Regions from separate parts of the Homo sapiens genome. Here region 2 is linked to region 1. Evidence: promoter capture Hi-C in 16 types of primary human blood cells and fetal thymus (Javierre and others, 2016). All regions are on one chromosome and are shown on one strand. Each heading gives the region's core, a stretch centred on a gene start or on the middle of the fragment in contact. The rest is flanking DNA. Distances are from core to core; before and after follow the strand shown. Region 1 holds the start of ST8SIA6 (ST8 alpha-N-acetyl-neuraminide alpha-2,8-sialyltransferase 6). Region 2 has its middle 60 kb from the start of VIM-AS1.

Region 1 (6,823 bases), core at 76-2,575:
TTCAACACACCATTGTCGAGAGGAAAACTCAGCACCCGTTTTTCAAATGCAGCTGCTGGAGGATCCCCCTTGATTCAAAGACCATTCACATCCAGGCTTAGAGGGTTGAGGGAGTGTGAAGGGTGCCCCCCCCCAACCCCGCGCCCTCTTCAAACACACGCACACTCTTACACTCACTCGCGCCGTCCCAGCCTGCCTACTCCCAACGAGTCCAAGCCGGTGCAGCCGCGCCCCATGCCCGGCTCGCAGCTCCCGAGCCCCAGTCCGCCCGCGCTGGGCGCCGCTGTACCTGTTAGTGGCGCGCGGTACCGCGGTCGCCGGGCTCCGGAGCGTCCTCAGCGCTGCGGGGGTGCCGTGGGTGGCCTCCCTGCTTTCCTCCACCAGAATCCTGCACAGCCGGGGAGAAAACTTAAGTTGCTACACCCCGCCGGGAGCTGTTGGCTGAAAGGCTGGGAGTCGCGCTCCTTGCCTGGCAGGGAGATCTCGCACTCCCCGGCTCCCAGGCCAGGTCCCCAGCCCCAGAGTTGGAAGAGCCTTAGGGCGGGAAGGAAGAGACAGCAAGGACCAGAATGGGGAGCATGAGATCCTGATGCGGAACCCGACGGCAGGTCCCGCTCCACAGCTGCCTCGCCCACAGCGATGCGCGCTAGAGCCCCCGCAGCCCTGACCGGTCCCTCTGCTCCCCAGCCGCCGTCCACCGGTCGGAGGGTCGCCTCCCTGCGACCCCCTCCCCCACTCCACTCTCAGGCCGTCGCCGCCCGTGGGCTGCTCCCCGCCGCGGCCAAAAGTCTCCGCGCCCGAGGGGAAGCGATGGGCGGCTTGGGGGTCCGGGGGCGCCAGGCGGGGCGCGCGGCGCGGGGCGCGGCCGGCGGGTGGGTGGGTTACCTGGCGCGGCCGGGCGCGTCTGCCGGGCACCAGAGCAGGCGCAGCAGCAGCAGCAGCAGCAGGCTGGCGAGCAGGGCGAGCAGTGCGCCCCCCGGCCGCATCCTGAGCCACAGGCGCCGCCGCCACCGCTGCTGCCGGGGCGAAGCACAGCCCGGGCGGCCCCGACTCGCGGCTCCCGCCGCCGCCGCCACCGCCGCCGTGGCCGCAGCCCCGCGCACCCACAGCGTTCACAGGCGGCAGCGAGGGGCGCCCGCAGCCCACCCGGCAGAGTCTCCGCGGCGGGCGGAGAAGAAGCCGCGTTCGGGCTCGCCCCGGGCTCCCGGCCCCGGCCCGCGGAGCGCCGCGATCGGCTGGCAGATGACGATTCGCCGAGCTCGCCGCCTGTCCTCCCGGAGGCGCTCGGAGCTGCTGCGGGCTCCGGTCGCCGCTGCCACTGCTGCTGCCGCCGCCGCCGCGCGGGGTCACCTGAAGGTTGGGGCGCGGAAGCTCAACTCCGTGCTGATTGGGCTCCAAGTTTTCTGCGCCCTCGCCTCGTCCCGAGTGCCCGCGAATCCCCCGGACGCCCACGCAGACCACCCAGCCACACCACAACTCTGCCTGCGGAGAGAGGAGAGGAGAAAAAGGGGCCGCTTCAAAAACTTTCAAAACTGTGCAGTCGCTTGGCTGGATCCTCCCACGCATGAAGAAAGCTGGGGACTGGGGAATTGCTGGGTGGATCATGACACTGAACAGAAGCAGTAACCTGTGCTTACTTCAACCCAGATTCAGAGGGACAGCGAACTGGTATGAGGGGCTAGGAGACCTTTAGGCATGAGCACATTACTACCTGGAGACCCGTTTAGCCCCTGCCTGTATTTGCAAATAGTTTTATTGGAAAACCTCCATGCCCATGGCTTTGTATTATCAGTGACTGCATATGGCTGTATGATCTAGGGCTGCAAGGGCAGAATTGAGTAGTGATGACAGAGGTGGCATAGCCCACAGGGCCTAAAATATTTACCATTTGAAACTTTCCAGGAAAAGTTTGCATACTGCTCTTAAATAAGCAAGAGGCCATTAGCTTGAGGCTGTCTCTGTACGTTGAGTTCCCACCTAACAATGGAAACCTACATTAGGCTGTAATGAACAGGGGGCTACTGGCCAATCATGGGCAACCAACTCATTATACCAGGCCCCACAAGGCAGCCTGCATAGCTATAGCCAATCAGTTTCTCCACTGTGCTTCTGAGTTTGGCCTATCAGGCTTTGCTGCTCACACCATGGGGTGGACCTCACTGGACCTCCTCTGGTTGTGAGTGCTGCCCAATTCATGAACCCTTTGCTCGAATAAACTGTGCTAAATTTAATTTGTCTGATGTTTTTCTTTTAACACTGCTATGGGCTGAATGTTTGTGTCTCTACAAAATTCATATGTTGAAACCCAAATCCCCAATCTAATGTGGTGGTATCTGGAGGTGGGGCCTTTCATACCTGATTAGTTCATGGGGTGGAGGCTTCCTGGTGGAATTAGTTCCCTCATAAGAGCAGGCAGCGGGGAATTTGCCTCCTCTCTCTCTGCTCTGTGCAGTGTAAAGACACAGCACGAGGGCAGCTTTCTGCCAAGCAGGAAGAGGACCCTCACCAGAACCTGACCATGCTGGCACACTGATCTTGGGTTTCTTACCCTCCAGAACTGTGAAAAATAAATTTCTGTTCTTTCGGTCACCCAGCCTATGGTATCCTTCTTATGGCAGCCAGAACTAAACCACGGTCTAGATCATATTGGTTAGTATCTCATTTACGAGTATCTCATCTGTTGCAGGAGAGTGATCCAATGACACTATGAAACAGACTGGCTCTCTATTTTTTTAAAAGTGGGTCTCAACTCTCTATGCCCTAAACTATCCTGACTGCCCAAGCCCCCACTTAGCCACTTCCCTAGGTTTTAATTCCATTGTGGTTATATGCAGGCTTATAAAATTATTCACTCTTACTTTTGTATAGTTTCGAGATTTTTCCAAATGCAACCCTTGGATTCCACCATCTTGGGAGTACCTTGATAAGATCTTTTGAAATGACTTCAATTTTGAAAAGGCTTTCATGAGTTAACTTTCCCAAGCAACAAAAATATGATATTTCAACTGACATCTCCTAGAAGCATATGGTCTTCACCTGAAAGAGGCCCAAGTGAGAGCCATTTGGGAGCAACCAGGCCAGACAGCCAAATAAAGCTGTCACCAAAGATTCCATCACAAGAAAACATATATCAAGGCAAGAGATACCAGTGTCCCTAGTCTCTTTCTGCTAATTCCGGATTTACTCTAAAAACATCTTGTTGAATACAAAACAGAAGTTTGCACATAATAATTGATCAATAAATGTTTAGTCAATGAATAAAAGCACATAAGAACTAGTGTTATTTTTAAAGAGAAAATGGAGCAAAAAAACTAAAAATAAATGTGACTAGGAATGTGATTTCCTTCTATAGCTCATCACTGCTGTTAATATATGTACTAATCAGGAATAAAAACAGGCTTCTACTTTTATATAAAACTAATATTTGTAGGGATTCAGTTGCTTCATCTGAGTATGACATAAAGTAATGCTATACTCAGGTAGTGATAGAATAATACAGAAATCTAGTTCTACATATTTCAAAGTTTAAGCCGTTTGTTAAATAAGTAGAATATGGCACAATCATCTAGAAAATGAAGAGTTGCCTGGATTTGAAAGATATTCCAATTTTTATCTCAGTGCAGAAAATTGTGCAGAAAACTAATGCTGAACATGGTTTGCAGAAAAAGAAAAAGGCATTATTGTATCAGCCAGGAAGCTGCAATTTCACCTAATTTACTAAAGTTTAATATTTCAGCACAGCTGGGCTCAAGGCAACAGCAGAAGAGTCAGCCTTGCACTGGGTTCCCTAAACACCCTTGCTGCAAATGAAGTTACTTTTTATCAAGCCAATGGCTATCAGCAGGGGACTCACAAAAGCCCATTTTAATTGGAAAAACAAGTGTAAATTTGCAATGGGAATTCTGAGCCCAGTGTTAAAATTTGACAGTAGGGAACTTTACCACAAGCTTTCTAATTTAAGACCTGGGTGGGTAAGATATGAATTATCTTGCTCATCCTTGAGAGAGAAAGAAACCTGACAAGAAAATGATACCTTAACATTATTAGCCATAGAACCACTACTGGAAAAGTGTGCATTTGGTAGCTTAACATTTCCAGGCTTGACTTGCAACCCTAAAGATCTATGCCATGTAGTAATTTGAAATGCTGCTGAGGCCAGGAATTGAAACGTAAACTCAGGTTGACATCCGGATGCTGCTCCCAAGCTTGTGTAAGTGGCGAGCCTACCTCACTCACCCAGTCCACTCCACATGGGCCTCTCATTTTGTCTTTGTTATTCTTTATTCATCATCATGAATGTCCTTACCTTCATAAAATAACTTTTAAAAAATGATTGGGAAGTTTCGATATATAAAAAGTCTCCAGGCCTATGGAAATCTTGAAAGTTGAAGTTTCTGATTTGGAGTGTAAGGTTTCTTATTTGGCTAACAAGTGACTTTCCACAAAAAAGATGATTCAGGGGAAAGCTAGAAACGTGTAAGATTTCCATAAGTGTGGATTTGGGGATTCAGAAAGATGAATCACAAATATCAAGAGTCTACCTGACATTTGATATATACATAATATATATGTATATACACTATATACATAATACATAATGTACAGAATATATAGCATTATATACATATTGTGTATACACATTATGTATACACATACGTATTATGTATACATATTATGTATATATTATATACATAGTATATACTACATATATACATAATATATACTACATATATAATATATAATGTATATATACACACTAGATACATTATACTATATATGTATGTATATATACATTATACATTATGTATATATATACTATGCATATACATTCCATATAATTATGCATATGCAAATTGTTATATAATATTATGTATATATATTATGTATATTATATTATATTGTGTATATACATGATTATATATTATGTATATAATATAAATGTATAGAAACTATATATACATATATTTGTTTACATAGTATGTATATATACTGATAGCTATAATGTATCTCCATAATTTTTTTCCTTATATTGAAGATTCTTACTGATATATAACAGTGAATGAGTGTACATAGATATGCTATATCTCTACATAGATTATGTGTATATATACACACACTATATAAATAAATATGTGTATATAGAATGCATATACATGTATACTATGTATATACACACTAAATACATAGCAGATACAAATATATCTCACTGGTATATATGAACATCTTCAATATAAGGAAAAAAAGGAATGCTGTGAGAAACGCACAAAAAATTGATGCACCAAAGACTCTTTTCTTCATTCGGGAGACATTTTTACCTCTCTGTTTAGAAAGGATGATTTCTGATGTTTCAGACTGCTTGACTGGTTTTTGTAACGTTAAAGATTTGTGAGGACTACAGGACAATAGGTCATTTATAACATTAAGCTATACCTTGGGGAGGACGTTTATAAGACTATGATAACCAAGACTACATATTTTCTTTTTTTTTTTTTCTTTTTTTTTTTTTTTTGAGACGGAGTCTCGCTCTGTCGCCCAGGCTGGAGTGCAGTGGCGGGATCTCGGCTCACTGCAAGCTCCGCCTCCCGGGTTCACGCCATTCTCCTGCCTCAGCCTCCCAAGTAGCTGGGACTACAGGCGCCCGCCACTACGCCCGGCTAATTTTTTGTATTTTTAGTAGAGACGGGGTTTCACCGTTTTAGCCGGGATGGTCTCGATCTCCTGACCTCGTGATCTGCCCACCTCAGCCTCCCAAAGTGCTGGGATTACAGGCGTAAGCCACCGCGCCCTGCCAGACTACATATTTTCAATAAGTCATAGGACATAAGTAAAAGTAGAAATGACTTGAAAAAATCAATGACCTCAGTATCTCTCCAAATATGTCTTATTACAGATTTTTGACCGCTGTTAGTGGAATATTGAAGATTGGGGGCCAGGCGCAGTGGCTCACACCTGTAATCCCAGCACTTTGGGAGGCTGAGGTGGGCAGATCGCTTGAGCCTAGGAGTTCGAGATCAACCTGGGCAATATAGCAAAACCCCTCCTCTATAAAAAATACCAAAAGAAAAAAAAACTAGCAGGGCATGGTGGTGCACACCTATGGTCCCTGCGACTCTAGAGGCAAAGGTGGGAGGATCACTTGAGCCCAGAAGGTGGAGGTTGCAGTGAGCTGAGATGGCACCACTGTACTCCATCCTGGGTGATGGAGTGAGGCTCTGTCTCAAAAAATAATAATAATAATAATAAAGTAATTCTATGCATAAAGTAGTTTTAATTTAAAGAGTATAACTAAAACTACGGGACTAAATATGAGAATTATTATTCACTTTATAAAATAGATTTTTAACATATAAACATTCACATTTCCTAAATCCCTCTCTTTGGAATGCACTTAAAACACTATAAAGGACTAAAAGGGGAAATGCACACTATTTATTAATATCTCAAGACTATAAAATGGCAACAATCCCATTTCACAAACTCCCTGCTTAAAGCGAACTAATTGGACAAGAATGCCAATTTCAAGACATGTCTCCTCTATTTATGATCTTATATTTGTGGGAAACAAGTAGAAAAGTTGATTGGGTGTGGTGGCTCATGCCTGTAATCCCAGCACTTTGGGAGGCCGAGGCGGGAAGATTGCTTGAGTCCAGGAGTTCAAGACAAGCCTGAGCAACACAGCAAGACGCCGTCTCTGCAAAAAATCTTTTTTTTTTTTATTAGTCAGGCACAGTGGCTTGTGCCTGCAGTCCCAGCTACTTGGCAAGGGGAAGTGGGAAGATCACCTGAGCCGGGGAAGCGGTGGTTGCAGTGAGCCAAGACCATG
Region 2 (6,927 bases), core at 2,225-4,724, 160 kb before region 1:
GCAACCCAGAGAGTGTATGGCCCTGGCTGAAGTCTGCAGTGGGTCCTGGAGGTGTGGCCAGTGGAGCTCTTTAGCTAACTCCACTCCCCACAGCAGGTCTCCTCCCGGAGGATCCGCAGGAAAGTCTGCACAGCACAGCTGAGCTATCCCCCTCTATTTCTCACATGCTGTGGCTCACTTCCAGGCTTTATTAGAATTGCTTCTTACATATTTTATTTCCCTAACTAGTGTGTGGCATTCTTGAGCATAGGATCCATGTCTGATTTATTCTTGCAAGTTTGCAAATCTAGGACGTACTTGGAGGGACCTAGAGACTCGTATCTCAGGATCCCAAAATTACTAAGCCATAAGGAAAAGTCAAGCAGGGAACCGCATCAGGCAAAGCTGCCTCCCATTTGATTCCTAAATAACAAAGCTACAAAGATAAACAAGATACCTCCCTCCCTCACAATTTGCCCACAAGGAAATTCCTTGTGGACAAGGGACACACAGAACTCAAAGTCATCCCTCTGCTCATGTGAGGCAAATGCATATCTGATAGCTTTCTCTGCCCTTTTGTTTCACTGAGCCACACTAAGGCTTGAGTGACTATTCCTCTACTGTCATCTCACAGGTAGATTGTGTATTCAGTGAAAGGCTAATCAGAGACTCAAAAGAATGCAACCGATTTTCTGTTAACTACTTATGACACGGCAGCCCGCTTCCTGGCTTCAAGTTGTCCGACCTTTCCAGAGCGAACCAGTATTCATCTTACACATATTGACTGACGTCTCATGTCTCCATAAAATGTATAAAACCGGCCGGGTGCGGTGGTTTCACGCCTGTAATCCCAACACTTTGGGAGACTGAGGAGGGCGGATCACGAGGTCAGGAGATCGAGACCATCCTGGCTAACACGGTGAACCTGTGTCTCTACCAAAAATACAAAAAATTAGCCGGGCGTGGTGGCGGGTGTCTGTAGTCCCAGATACTTGAGAGGCTGAGGCAGGACAATGGCATGAACCCTGGAGTCATAGGTTACAGTGAGCCAAGATTGTGCCACTGCACTCCAGCCTGGGCGACAGAGCGAGACTGTGTCTCAAAAAAAAAAGTATAAAACCAAGCTGTTCACTGACCACCTTGGGCACATGTTTTCAGGACCTCTTGAGGCTGTGTCACGGGCATGTCCTTAACCTTGGCAGAATAAACTTTTTAAATTGATTGAGATATGTCTCAGATACTTTTGGGTTCACATAACACAAAACGAATGGTCAGAAATGGACTTCCACAGTAATAATTATTTCTTGAATACATCATGGTGTGAAATTGAGGGTTTCCTCGGCTTCCGCAATTAATTGCCCTTAGCATCTTTTGAATACAACAGTCTCCTATCCTGACAGCCTTCTCTTGTTTACTCAGGAGTTCAAGTGTTCACTCGCTTCCTAAATGCTTTTCCTTCCTTGACAGCGACATGAAGCTAAGTGAGACCAATCATTTGCAGGGGCAGGTACTCACTCCGTAACGCATTTCTCATCCACTCTGTGCAACACTCCACCTGCTACTATGCATGTATGACATTAATTGTATACATTTATCATGCACCTTTTATAGGTAAATTTGTACACATTTACCATGCACCTTTTATAGGTAAATTTGTGTACATTTACCATGCACCTTTTATAGGTAAATTTGTATACATTTACCCTGCACCTTTTAAGGATTCAAGCTGTATGTACAGGTGACACAGACTACAAAAGTCATTTGATAAACAGTTCTAGTTTGAATAAACCAAATTCAAGTTAGTATAATACTAATATGCAAAAAAGAGGCTGCTGCTAGGCATACCAGGTCAAGTCTAAATAATCTCTCTTCTCAACAATCTCTTTTTGTAATATTGGGTCAGTATTGTTTGGGTGGAGAGTTACTATTTTTTCTTTTTAAATCAAAATGTAAACGTTGCTCTTTTGAACTACTGGTTAAGAGCTGCCACCCTGAAGACCTCATGGAAAAAAGATAAATGGGAAGAAGTCATAATTCTTTTTTATAACCTGGTATCACTATTACTCATGCTGATCAAATGGCTTCTGGTGGCACTACCATTGCTATTTTGCCAGTAATTCAGAATCAGTTGAAAACACAGAAGGTAGCTTACATTCATTCAAACATACATATGTGCATGGAAAGAAAGAAATATTTCCTTTGGATTACTGTATTTCAGAATGCCAAGAACACCATGGGATTAATGTCTAGCCTGAGAATGGAGAGAAGAACTAACTTTTTATCGAGTGTTATTTTATGTTAAAAGAAGCACTACTTTTTCGTTTTCCCCAGTCACTTGCACCACATTTATGAAATTATGAACCAATAAATATTTTTGAGTTCCCACTAAATCATTTATAGCACGGAAGACCCACTTCATAAAAGAGATCCAGGCTAGAATTTTTTAAATTGTCTACAATAAAGATCACATGAGCTGAAATTTATGAATACTGGAGGCTTTACAAGTTGAATCCTGAGCAAGCTGGAAGATCTCCACTATTCCCTGCCACCTAATTTTTTGAGGATGAAAAATTGTCCCCACACCCAGGAGGTGAGAATTTTATTTCCCTGTAAAACAAAAAGAAGAGGAACATTGACCTGTGAGCAACCCAAAGCACCCTCAGAAAGCTTTGAAAATCAAAAGCTGAAAATAACTATCAGCCCAAGTCACCATTTAGCAATCTGGAGAGCTTGTTTTTTTTTTTTTTTTCTTTTTTGAGACGCAGTCTTGCTCTGTTGCCCAGGCTGGAGTGCAGTGGCGCAATCTCGGCTCACTGCAGGCTCCGTCTCCCGGGTTCACGCCATTCTCATGCCTCAGCCTCCTGAGTAGCTGGGACTACAGGCGCCCGCCACCATTCCTGGCTAATTTTTTGTATTTTTAGTAGAGACGGGGTTTCACCGTGTTAGCCAGGATGGTATCGATCTCCTGACCTCGTTTCGTGATCTGCGCGACTCAGCCTCCCAAAGTGCTGAGATTATAGGCGTGAACCACCGCGCCCAGCCGGTTTAACTTTTAATGTGTCCTGTGGTTGCGATCTAATATTTTGACTCTCTGTAGTTGATAGCTTGTGAATAGCATTCTGTGTATAATGAGAAAGAATCAACCATTAGAGCAGGTGCATTTCTACAGGGCTGTCAGCATTATGCATTCCACTGTCCCATGCGTGCCAACCGTTCTCACCTCTGTTAAATTGTAGAAAATAGAAGCTTCTATTAAATTGCCATTTCAGCACCTGCAATTCTGCTAATCCTTCATTTCAGGAGAAGAGCAAATCTGATTTAGCCACAGTGCAGGTTATTAGATAGTGGTGATTATGAAACTTCGGTTCCCTGATAGCTACTCTATGCTAAAATAAATAATCCTTTAAGAAAATATGACGATGCCCCTTTTCCTTCCTCTCTCAAATATTAGTTTTGTACCTAGTGAATGAAGTCAAATGACATATTTCAGAAAATCTCTTGAAGGCAAGATTGAGCTGAAGACGTGGGTCACCTGAACACTGTGGTTTCACCTCTGGTTCTCGGGTCTGATTGAAACGAGTTTTGGAGATTACAGTTCAGTCCCTAGAGGGCCCTACAGGATAGTCAATCCACATCAAAAAGCCATTGCGTGTATGAATTCATGCTGATTTTATGTGACAGCCTTTTTCCATTTAGACAGGTTCAAGCACTACAGAGCGGAATCACTCCTCTTCCGGTAAGATTAAAAGCTTACCCATTTTTGCACAGAATCTTTCACCAGGAATTGCTCTTACTACTTTTTGTTTTCTCAGAATCATAAAATCTTTATTTTCTGATAGCAGAAAACATTTTGCCATCCATTCACCTTCACTTCTTGCAGAACAGAAGTGTCATAACTAAGACACCAGCTGGTTCAAGGGGCGTTCCATTATTTTAGTTATGAAGAAGAATTACAAGGCTCTAACTACAACTAATAGCAGGCCTTAAGATTTTAAAAATGTCAGCCGGGTGTGGTGGCTCATACCTGTAATCCCAGCACTTTGTGAGGCTGAGTCAGGCAGATCACTTGAGGCCAGGAGTTTGAGACCAGCCTGGCCAACATGGTGAAACCCTGTCTCTACTGCAAATACAAAAATTAGCTGGGGGTGGTGGTAAGTGCCTGTAATCCCAGCTACGCGGGAGGCTGAGGCAGGAGAGGCGGAGGTTGCAGTGAGCCAAGATAGCACCACTGCACTCCAGCCTAGGCAACAGAGTGAGACCCTATCTCAAAGAAAAAAAAAAAGTCACCTCCGGAGGAACCATATTATCTACTCAATGGGTCTCTCATTTCTGCCTATCAATGAGTTAAACATTTTTTCCCAGAAGATTCAACTTCTGGGAAATCCACTGGATTTAGTGGGAAAATAAATTAATAGTAAGGCTTTTAAAATCTTACTTATTTCTCCAGTGTGTATTCATGTTGGATAAATCCTTAAGGAGAAGACAGGTTAACTGAAAATTTATTAACATTTCTAAAGGAGTTGAGGATTATGATGATCATGGATTATTCATTTACTTAGGAGTTGTATGTATCTGAATTCAGATAATAAAATGAGAAGATGGTGATTCAAAGAACTGCGGTGAATGCTTTACAGGAAGCTGAGAGCAAAGCTTAACGATATGGGCTTAGGAGTCACACAGACCCGAGTTGAATTCTTGCTGGCTTCTCCTCTTTTTAGCAGCTTTGGATAAATTATTCGCCTTCTCAATGTCTCTGCTTTCTTATTTTTAAGATAGTGGTTGTAGAATATCTCCTTACGGTGTCTGCTTAGACCTCATAGTATCCTTCTTCTAAGTAAGTCCCCTCCTCCTATGTTCCTGCTCAGACTGGAGTGTTGGCAACCACGTGAGTTTTTTTCCCCCAGCTTTAATGAGACAAATAAAACTTTGTTGATTGACAAATAAAAATTGTGACCAGGTGCAGTGGCTCATGCCTATAATCCTAGCACTATGAGAGGCCAAGGTGGGCAGATTGCTTGAGCCCAGAAGTTCAAGACCAGCCTAGGCAGTATAGTGAAATGCTGTCTCTATTGAAAAAAAAAATACAAAAAATTAGCCAGGTGTGGTGGCATCAACTGTAGTCCCAACTACTTGTGAGGCTGAGGTAGGAGGATCACTTGAGCCTGGAGAAGTGGAGGCTGCAGTGAGCCATGATAGCACCACTGTACTCCAGCCTGGGCAACAGAGCAAGACCCTTTCTTCAAAAAAATTGCAAATACTTAAAGAGTACAATATGATGTTTTGCATAAGTTTATTTTGTGAATTGATTGCCACAATCAAGCCAGTTAATATATGTTAATATATTAAAATATGCTGTGTGTTTCTATGAGGGCTGAATTAACGTATCCATTGCCTCACAGTTATTATTTCTGTGTGCGTGTATGTGTGTGTATGTGTTGAGAACACTTAAGATCTCCTCTCAGCAAATTTCAAGTGTACAATATGTAATTATTAAGTGTAGTCACCATGCTGTACATCACGTCTCCAGAACTTATTTATCTCATCTATAACTGAAAGTTTGTACCATTTGATTGACATGTCCCCGTTCCCCCACCTCTCCTTCTACTCCCAGCCCCTGGCAACCATCACTCTACCCTCTGCTTCTGTGAGTTTGACTCTTTTAGTTTCCACGATAAATGAGATTCATGCAATGTTTGTCTTTCTGTGTCTGTCTTGTTTCACTTAACATAATGTCCTCCAAGTTTATTCAAGTTGTTGCAAATGGCAGGATTTCCTTCTTTTTTAAGCCTGCATAATATTCCATTGTGTGTGTATGTATATTTCACATTGTATCCATTCATCCATTCACCACTTCGGTTGTTTCCATATGTTGGCTATTGTGACTCATTTAGCAGCCATGTTTGTTACTGCATGACTATTATCTGGAGTGGATGTGATGTGTGACCCAGACCGAACCATTAGCTTTCCTCTCCAGGGAAGTTGTAGTTGACATGAAATAGCTGTCACTGAATCTCTGTTTGTGACTGGCACCAGAGAATGGTGGGGTAGCAGGTGTGAGAAAAAGCCAAGAAAGTCAGACAGCAGAGAACTAGAAGCCATATGTGGAAATCAAGGTCAATGTGGTTCCAGACATAGGGAGCATGACTGAAGAGGGGACTGTCTTGGTATCCCATGGCCTTTCGTTTCTTGGCTTAAGTCACACAAGAGGCCAAACTGCTCTTGACTGAGGCAGTATATTTTAGTCAATTTCCTATTTTTTTAAGATATTTTAAAGTGAATTTCCTATTAGTAGAAAATAAAATACTCACACCCACTACAAGGCTAATAGTACCTAAATATGAGGGCAACTGTGAAAGTTAGAGGATATGTGTAAAATGCCAGCAAGTACATTCAATAAATAGTAGCTACTTTTTTATTTATTTAGAGACAGGGTCTTGCTCTGTCACCCAGGCTGGAGTGCAGGGGCGGTGAGATCACGCTCGCTGCAGCCTCGACTTTCTGGGCTCGAGCGATCCTCCCACCTCAGCCTTCTAAGTAGCTGGGACTACAGGCACATACCACCACGTCTGGTTAATTTTTGTATTTTTGGTAGAGACGGGGTCTTGCTATGTTGCCCAGGCTGGTCTTAAGTTCCTGAGCTCAAGCAATCTGCTGGCCTCGGCCTCCCAGAGTGTTGGGTTTACAGGGGGGAGCCACCGCACCAGGCTGGTAGCTATGGTTATGTCATTTTTCCTATAAGTAAACTGTGAATATACTTGCAGTAAAGATCATTATTGGAGAGATTTTAAAGTAAGTGCAGATAACAGGGAAACCGTAAATTGGTAGAAAATCTCATTGTTATAATTTATGCTAACGTGCTTTCCTAGAAACCCAAATATAAAGTTTCTGTCATCTGTGTTTCCCAGTGGCACTGCCAAGGAGTCACAGAGCTCTAATTTAGATGTATGT

What was found. Contacts are between HindIII fragments. The CHiCAGO score rates a contact against its expected background, and 5 or more counts as called.
Region 2: a fragment that was not itself captured here is called in contact with the fragment with the promoter of ST8SIA6 in region 1 in 2 of 17 cell types (erythroblasts and megakaryocytes); the score reaches 6.2 in erythroblasts.

The regions. Positions count from the first base shown.
Region 1 is chr10:17,453,270-17,460,092 of GRCh38, forward strand. It overlaps ST8SIA6 (ST8 alpha-N-acetyl-neuraminide alpha-2,8-sialyltransferase 6), which reads right to left and starts at 1,326. Exons shown (of 8, transcript NM_001004470.3): 1 at 886-1,326; 2 at 290-388. The coding sequence starts at 986. The HindIII fragment of the contact is 5,030 bases long and covers 1-3,945 here.
Region 2 is chr10:17,286,817-17,293,743 of GRCh38, forward strand. No RefSeq gene overlaps it. Among named protein-coding and RNA genes, the nearest start is that of VIM-AS1, 60 kb to the left of the region's middle. The HindIII fragment of the contact is 503 bases long and covers 3,224-3,726 here.